Linked DNA regions of Homo sapiens: region 2 is linked to region 1. The links are contacts of gene promoters, found by promoter capture Hi-C in human tissues and cell types (Jung and others, 2019). All regions are on one chromosome and are shown on one strand. Each heading gives the region's core, a stretch centred on a gene start or on the middle of the fragment in contact. The rest is flanking DNA. Distances are from core to core; before and after follow the strand shown. Region 1 holds the start of CYB5R3 (cytochrome b5 reductase 3). Region 2 overlaps PACSIN2 (protein kinase C and casein kinase substrate in neurons 2).

Evidence for each region. The method cuts DNA at HindIII sites, captures the fragments that hold promoters and counts their contacts. A contact is called where the count stands out against the background at its distance.
Region 2: a fragment that was not itself captured here is called in contact with the fragment with the promoter of CYB5R3 in region 1 in 1 of the 25 tissues and cell types used here (IMR-90 fibroblasts).

Annotation. Positions count from the first base shown.
Region 1 is chr22:42,647,858-42,650,814 of GRCh38, reverse strand. CYB5R3 (cytochrome b5 reductase 3) reads left to right here and starts at 1,423. Exons shown (of 9, transcript NM_000398.7): 1 at 1,423-1,520. The coding sequence starts at 1,500. RefSeq lists silencers at 943-1,042, 1,353-1,542, 1,563-1,912 and an enhancer at 435-1,248. The HindIII fragment of the contact is 6,582 bases long and covers 206-2,957 here.
Region 2 is chr22:42,891,608-42,894,564 of GRCh38, reverse strand. PACSIN2 (protein kinase C and casein kinase substrate in neurons 2) reads left to right here. Exons shown (of 11, transcript NM_001184970.3): 3 at 952-1,108. Among named protein-coding and RNA genes, the nearest start is that of ARFGAP3, 36 kb to the right of the region's middle. RefSeq lists an enhancer at 1,443-1,542. The HindIII fragment of the contact is 5,092 bases long and covers 1-2,957 here.

The DNA of each region.
Region 1 (2,957 bases), core at 174-2,673:
AAAATGGCCGGGCGCGGTAGTTCCCACCTGTAATCCCGGCACTTTGGGAAGCCGAGGCAGGTGGATCACCTGAGGTCGGAAGTTCGAGACCAGCCTCACCAACATGTTGAAACACCGTCTCTACTAAAAATACAAAATTAGGCCGGGCGCGGTGGCTCACGCCTGTAATCCCAGCACTTTGGGAGGCCGAGGCGGGCGGATCACGAGGTCAGGAGATCGAGACCATCCTCGCTAACACGGTGAAACCCCGTCCCTACTGAAAATACAAAAAATTAGCCGGGCGCGGTGGGGTGCCTGTAGTGCCAGCTACTCGGGAGGCTGAGAATGGCGTGAACCCTGGAGGCGGAGCTTGCATTGAGCCGAAATGGCGCCACTGCATTCCAGCCTGGGGGACAGGGCGAGACTCTGTCTCAAAAAAAAAAAAAAAAAAAAAAAAAAAAAGATTAGCTGGTTAGCCAGATGTGGTGGCACATGCCTGTAATTTCGGGAGGCTGAGGCAGGAGGATCTGTTGAACCCTGGAGGCGGAGTTTGCGGTGAGCCGAGATCGCGTCAATGCATACCAGCCTGGGCAACAAGAGCGAAACTGCGTCTCAAAAAAAAAAACAATTAGCCGGACGTGGTGGCATGTGCCCAGCTACTCAGGAGGTTGAGGCAGGAGGAACACTTGAGCCTGGGAGGTTGAGGCTAAAGTGAGCTGTGATCAGGCTCCTGCATTCCAGTCTGGGCAAGAGTGAGACCCTGCTTTACCAAAAAAAAAAAAAAAAAAAAAGGTATTTATTGAGCACCTACTATATGCTAGGCTCTGTGTGGCTAGGCTCTGGGGATGTACGGGACTTCAAACCAGATAGGGCCTTGCCCTCCGGGAGCGCACAGTCCACTGGGATGGGGTGGGAGTGGGGGAAACACGCAGGAGGCCTTCAGCTAAGTGGGACAAAGATCACTCCACAGTGGGACAATGGCGTGGGGAGCGGAGGCGCCGCCGGCGAGGAGGCTCCGGGCGGGCCGTGCTGAGACCGCAGCATTTAACCCGGCCCGAGGCAGCTGGGAACAGTGCTGCCCAGGGAACTACAAATTCAAAGGCCCGGGGAAGGGCCGCGCTGAGCAGCTGCAGGCACAGGCCCAGGCCAGGCCAGGCAGGACCGGCCCCTGCAGTCTCGGAGGCCGGGGGAAGATTCCGCCTCTTATTCTCGCTCCCATCCGGGGGGCGCCATCTTGCTTCCTTTATGGCGGCGAACGAGGCCCAGAGAGGCCACCGTCCCGCGCGGGGCAGCACAGCGGCGGGAGAGCTCGGAGCGCAGAGGGCCGCATCCCCAGTTCCCAGTCTCCATCCCCGGCAGAAGCAGGCGGAGCGACCCGGTCCCCGCCCCCGCGCCCGCCCCGCCCCGCGCGCCCGCCTGGCCCCTCGGCCCCGCCCCTGCTCCGGAGTGACGCGGGCCCGGGCGCGACGGTCTCGGCGGCGGCGGCGGCGGCGACAGAGCGAGCGCGGCGCGGGGCCACCATGGGGGCCCAGCTCAGCACGGTAGGCGGGGAGGGGGCGCCGGGGCCGCGGGGCGTCGCGAGGGACTGGGACCCGGCGGCGAGGGGGCGGGCTGGCCTGCGGGAGGTGACGCGGGACCCGGGCCGCACCCGGCCGCACCCACTTCGCCCGCCCAGCCCGCCGCGCCCCACCCCACCCCACAAGGGCCTGGGCGAGCTACGTGGTGACCGCTACTTACGCCCTGGCAGTCTGCAGCGGGGACCCAGCCCTCCTGCCCGGGGGGCGCGCCAGAGCCCAGCACCCGGGGGCACCTGGGCCCTGCCCTGGCCGCCGTGGGGCCTTGGCTGCTGGAGGGACCCGTGGTTGTGAGCGTGTGTGCCGCTGAGTGTGAGTGTGTGAGCGAGCGTGTGAATGGCTTGAGAGTGAATGTGTGTGTGAGTGTGACCGTGGGTGTGAAGGGCGGGCATGGAAACGTGTGATGGGGTGTGTGTGTGTGTACGGGAGTATGTGAATGGGCGATGTCACTGACTGCGACTGAACGTGTGTGTGTGTGCGATGTCACTATGTCAGAGGGTTTTGCACGTTTAGCAACAAGGAACAGAACCCGGATGACACGGGGGCATCCTCCCAATGCTCAGTGGGCCAGGCTCCCATCAAGGCCAGGCTCCCACTGACCCTGCAAGCTGTGCTGGGGACCTCACACTTTGCGGTGTCAGTGCTGTTTGCCCCATTTCACAGATGGGGAAATGCAAACTAGTCTTGGCCACCGTCCCACAACGCTGCCGCCGGAAGGAGCCTGCTCCATGGGGTTTCAAAGTCCACTCTGCTGCTGTCACTCCTGGGCTGGCCTAGAGCCACCTTCCCTTCCCCCCAGGCCACCTCCTCTCCCCAGTTTCTCAAAAGTTGACCATGGTGAGGCTGGAGGCTTGAGTCTGTGTGGACATGTGGAGGCTGCGGCTGCAGAGGGCAGCTCTCCTGTCAACTGTGACCCGCTAGGCGTGGGGAGGCTGGCACAGGAGGAATCAGCCCAGTGCTCCTCCACCTCCACCTCTACCTCTATGCCTGGCATCTGCCACTTGGAGGGCACCTGGGTCCTCCCTCCTTGGGGAGGACCTGGAGTCTCCTCCTTGGGGATCCAGGCAAAAGGCCTCTTGGCTTGGGTGGTTGCTAAGGAAAGTGTGGCCCAACCCAGAACTTCGGGATGTTCAGACCCCAGGCAACCTTGGCCAGGGTGAACCTGTGGGCATCACCCCAACCTCCATGCAACACCCGGCCCATTTTTCCCCAGAAAGCATCTGCCTCCTTTATTGTTGAAATGTCCTGCCTGTGTCTCTAAAGCTTCCCCTGGTCTCCACCCAACCCTTCCCTGCTGTTTTTGGTGGTGTTCCATACCTTCCAGCTGGTGGTTGGATTTATGGCCACGTCCCCTGCACCTGGCTGCTCCATACATTTCTTTTTTCTTTTTTCTTTTTTGAGAAG
Region 2 (2,957 bases), core at 255-2,754, 240 kb before region 1:
GAACCCTTTGAAAAACTGCCTTTGGGCTGGGCGCGGTGCCTCACGCCTGTAATCCCAGCACTTTGGGAGGCTGATGTGGGTGGATCACAAGGTCAGGAGATTGAGACCATCCTGGCCAACATGGTGAAACCCTGTCTCCACTAAAAATACAAAAACTAGCTGGGTGTGATGGCATGCGTGCCTGTAGTCCCAGCTACTGAGGAGGCTGAGGCAGAAGAATCACTTGAACCTGGGATGCGGAGGTTGCAGTGAGCCGAGATCGTGCCACTGCACTCCAGCCTGACGACAGCGAGACTGTGTCTCAAAAAAAAAAACAATTGCCTTCAGCTCCAGCCTAGCCACTGTGGCTGCAGGATCTTGACAAACCACGTAACTTCTCTAAGCCTTTGTTTCCTCATCTGTAAAATGGGGACACTTATTCCTACTAGGTAGGGGAGACAGTATTTGGAGGTGTAAAACACCTAGCAGGTCGCCTGGCACATGGTAGGTGCTCAGGAAGTGGAAAAGTTTTTACAGCTATGATTGGGAAGTAATAACCCAGCACATGATGGATGACATCAAAGCAGAAGGCTTTGGTTAGATGTCACCTACTCCAGGAAGCCAGCCCCAGCCCCTCAGTCTGCGTGAGGTGCCCGTTTAGGCATCCTCAGCCCCACCCCTTCCTGAGCCAGTCAGCCTCCCTTCCTGACCCACAGCCCAGTTTCTACTTGGTACCCAACCTAAAGAACATTGAGAAGCCCCCGTTCACTGATGTGTATGATCTTATTAATAATAAAAATAGAGAGGCTCATTATCTAACTACACGGAGTGCCTTTCAAACTCTTGGAGAGGGGTGTGGTAAACATGACCCCAGGGGCGCATCAGGGCCTGGTTGGCATGGAGGCCATTTGTGCCACAGCCAAGGACAGGCTGCCCCAAGCCCCCTGCCTCCCAGCTGGTTCTCTCTCCTAGGTCGGGAACTACAAGCGGACTGTGAAGCGGATCGACGATGGCCACCGCCTGTGCAGCGACCTCATGAACTGCCTGCATGAGCGGGCGCGCATCGAGAAGGCGTATGCGCAGCAGCTCACTGAGTGGGCCCGGCGCTGGAGGCAGCTCGTGGAGAAAGGTATGGGGCCCCGGCACAGGTCCTGTGGCCTGGAGGCAGCTACACCCCAGCCGGGGGCTCTGGGCACGTTGTGACCCTCTCTATGCCAGTTTTCTGTCTTTTAAGATTGGGGCAAGAGTGCATTTCCCAGTTCCAGAGCGGGGTGTGATTTTTATGGGGAGCATTAGCGCCCATCACCAGAAGGCACAGGCTCCATGAGCTTTTGTCCACTTTCCTTGGGGACACAGGACTATAGCCCTTGTCATCCATAGGACACACTTGCACTTGCCGAGTTAACTCAGAACTCGGGTAAGTTCCTATCACGTGGAAGGCCTTGCCGCTTGGCACCTTAGTTTCTAACACTGAGAGCTGTTTATTTTTAAACTTGGCCATGTAGCAGGTCAGATAAGACTAGCTGGCAACACCTGGCAGTCTTTCTGAGTTTACATTTTAAGGGAATAATTACAGGTGTTGTATGGCAGAGGTTTCACCCCCTTCTGTCCCCACCGAAAAGCTCAGAAGATTCTGTAGCTTTATTAGTGCCACTGTTGTGTGGACAGGGGCCATGCTTAGAACACACTTCCCAGCAGGGAAGGGGAACTTGACTGATTACAGCCTTTCCGGCACAGAAGCAGAGCAGTGTGGGTTTCTCAAGGTGTGTTTTGGGGCAGGCTTTCCTGTGCTGACCAGCTGTCCTCAGCCCCAGCTGTCCTCAGCCAATCAGGGGAGCCAGGTCCCAAGCAAGCCAGGTCTAGTCCAGCTGCCTGTCCTTTCCCGTGATGCTGACATGGGTTGTTTGTGTGGGCTTAGCACAGTCCTTAGGGCAGGGTATGTGCCCAGGCTGTGGAGCAGGCACGTGGCAGAGGAGGGGCCTAGGATAGGTCAGCTCCCTTGGTCGGTGGCAGTGTCGTCATTTCGTTTCCACCTGCTGCAGCCCCTCTCCCAGGATCAAGCTGTCAGTCAGAGCTTGAGGTTTACAGAGCACCCTTACCACCCTCACCTTGTGGGTCTGGCTGTAACGTTGTGGACAGGACAGGAATGTGCTCATTTTGTAGACACGAAGGCACAGAGAGGTCCAACTTCCGGGGCTGTTCTCTGTTGTCTCCAAGCCCCAGAGTCACGTGTCCCCCTCTGGGTTCTCACAGCCTGCCCTCCCCTCAGCCCACCTCTGTCATGACTCAGCGCACTTGGTCACTGTCCCTGTGACCACCTTGAAGACCAGCCATGGATCTTCTCGATTTCTGCCCCGGCTCCGTTGTGGCTCTCCCTCCCTCCAGCCTCACGCCACCCCACCCTACCCCCTGAATAGAAATGCCAGCCTGGATTAGGGCTTCCTTCCTGAGCCTCGGGGACTGAGAACAGTGAGTAGGGAGAGGCGACTCAGCCCCTCCTGCCATACTGGTCCAGAGCAGGCTCCTGCTTCCTCCTCTCCTTCCTCCTGCAGGATGGGCTTCCATTCTGCTGAGGGGACAGTCCTCATTCCACAGTGTTCTCAAGCTTGTGCTCAGAGCCAGGCTCTTTCTGGGAGTGAATGAACACAGTCCTGCAGAGGAAGGCAGTGCAGGGCTAGCCAGGGGCCAAGCAGGGCTGATAGGAGCCATGCCAGGAGAAGCGTTGGCATGGTGTGGGTGGGTGCCCAACACCTGGGAGAAGCATCTGCTCACTTCAGAAGGTCCCCCCTTCTCTGGCCACCTTTAAGTAAATTAAGACTTCTAAGATGTGGAAATTTGAGTTTTTATAGAGTTCAGTGGCTTTAAATAAAGGAAAGGCATGGCCGGGCGCGGTGGCTCACGCCTGTAATCCCTGCACTTTGGGAGGCCGAGGCGAATGGATCACCTGAGGTCAGGAGTTCGAGATCAGCCAGCCTGGC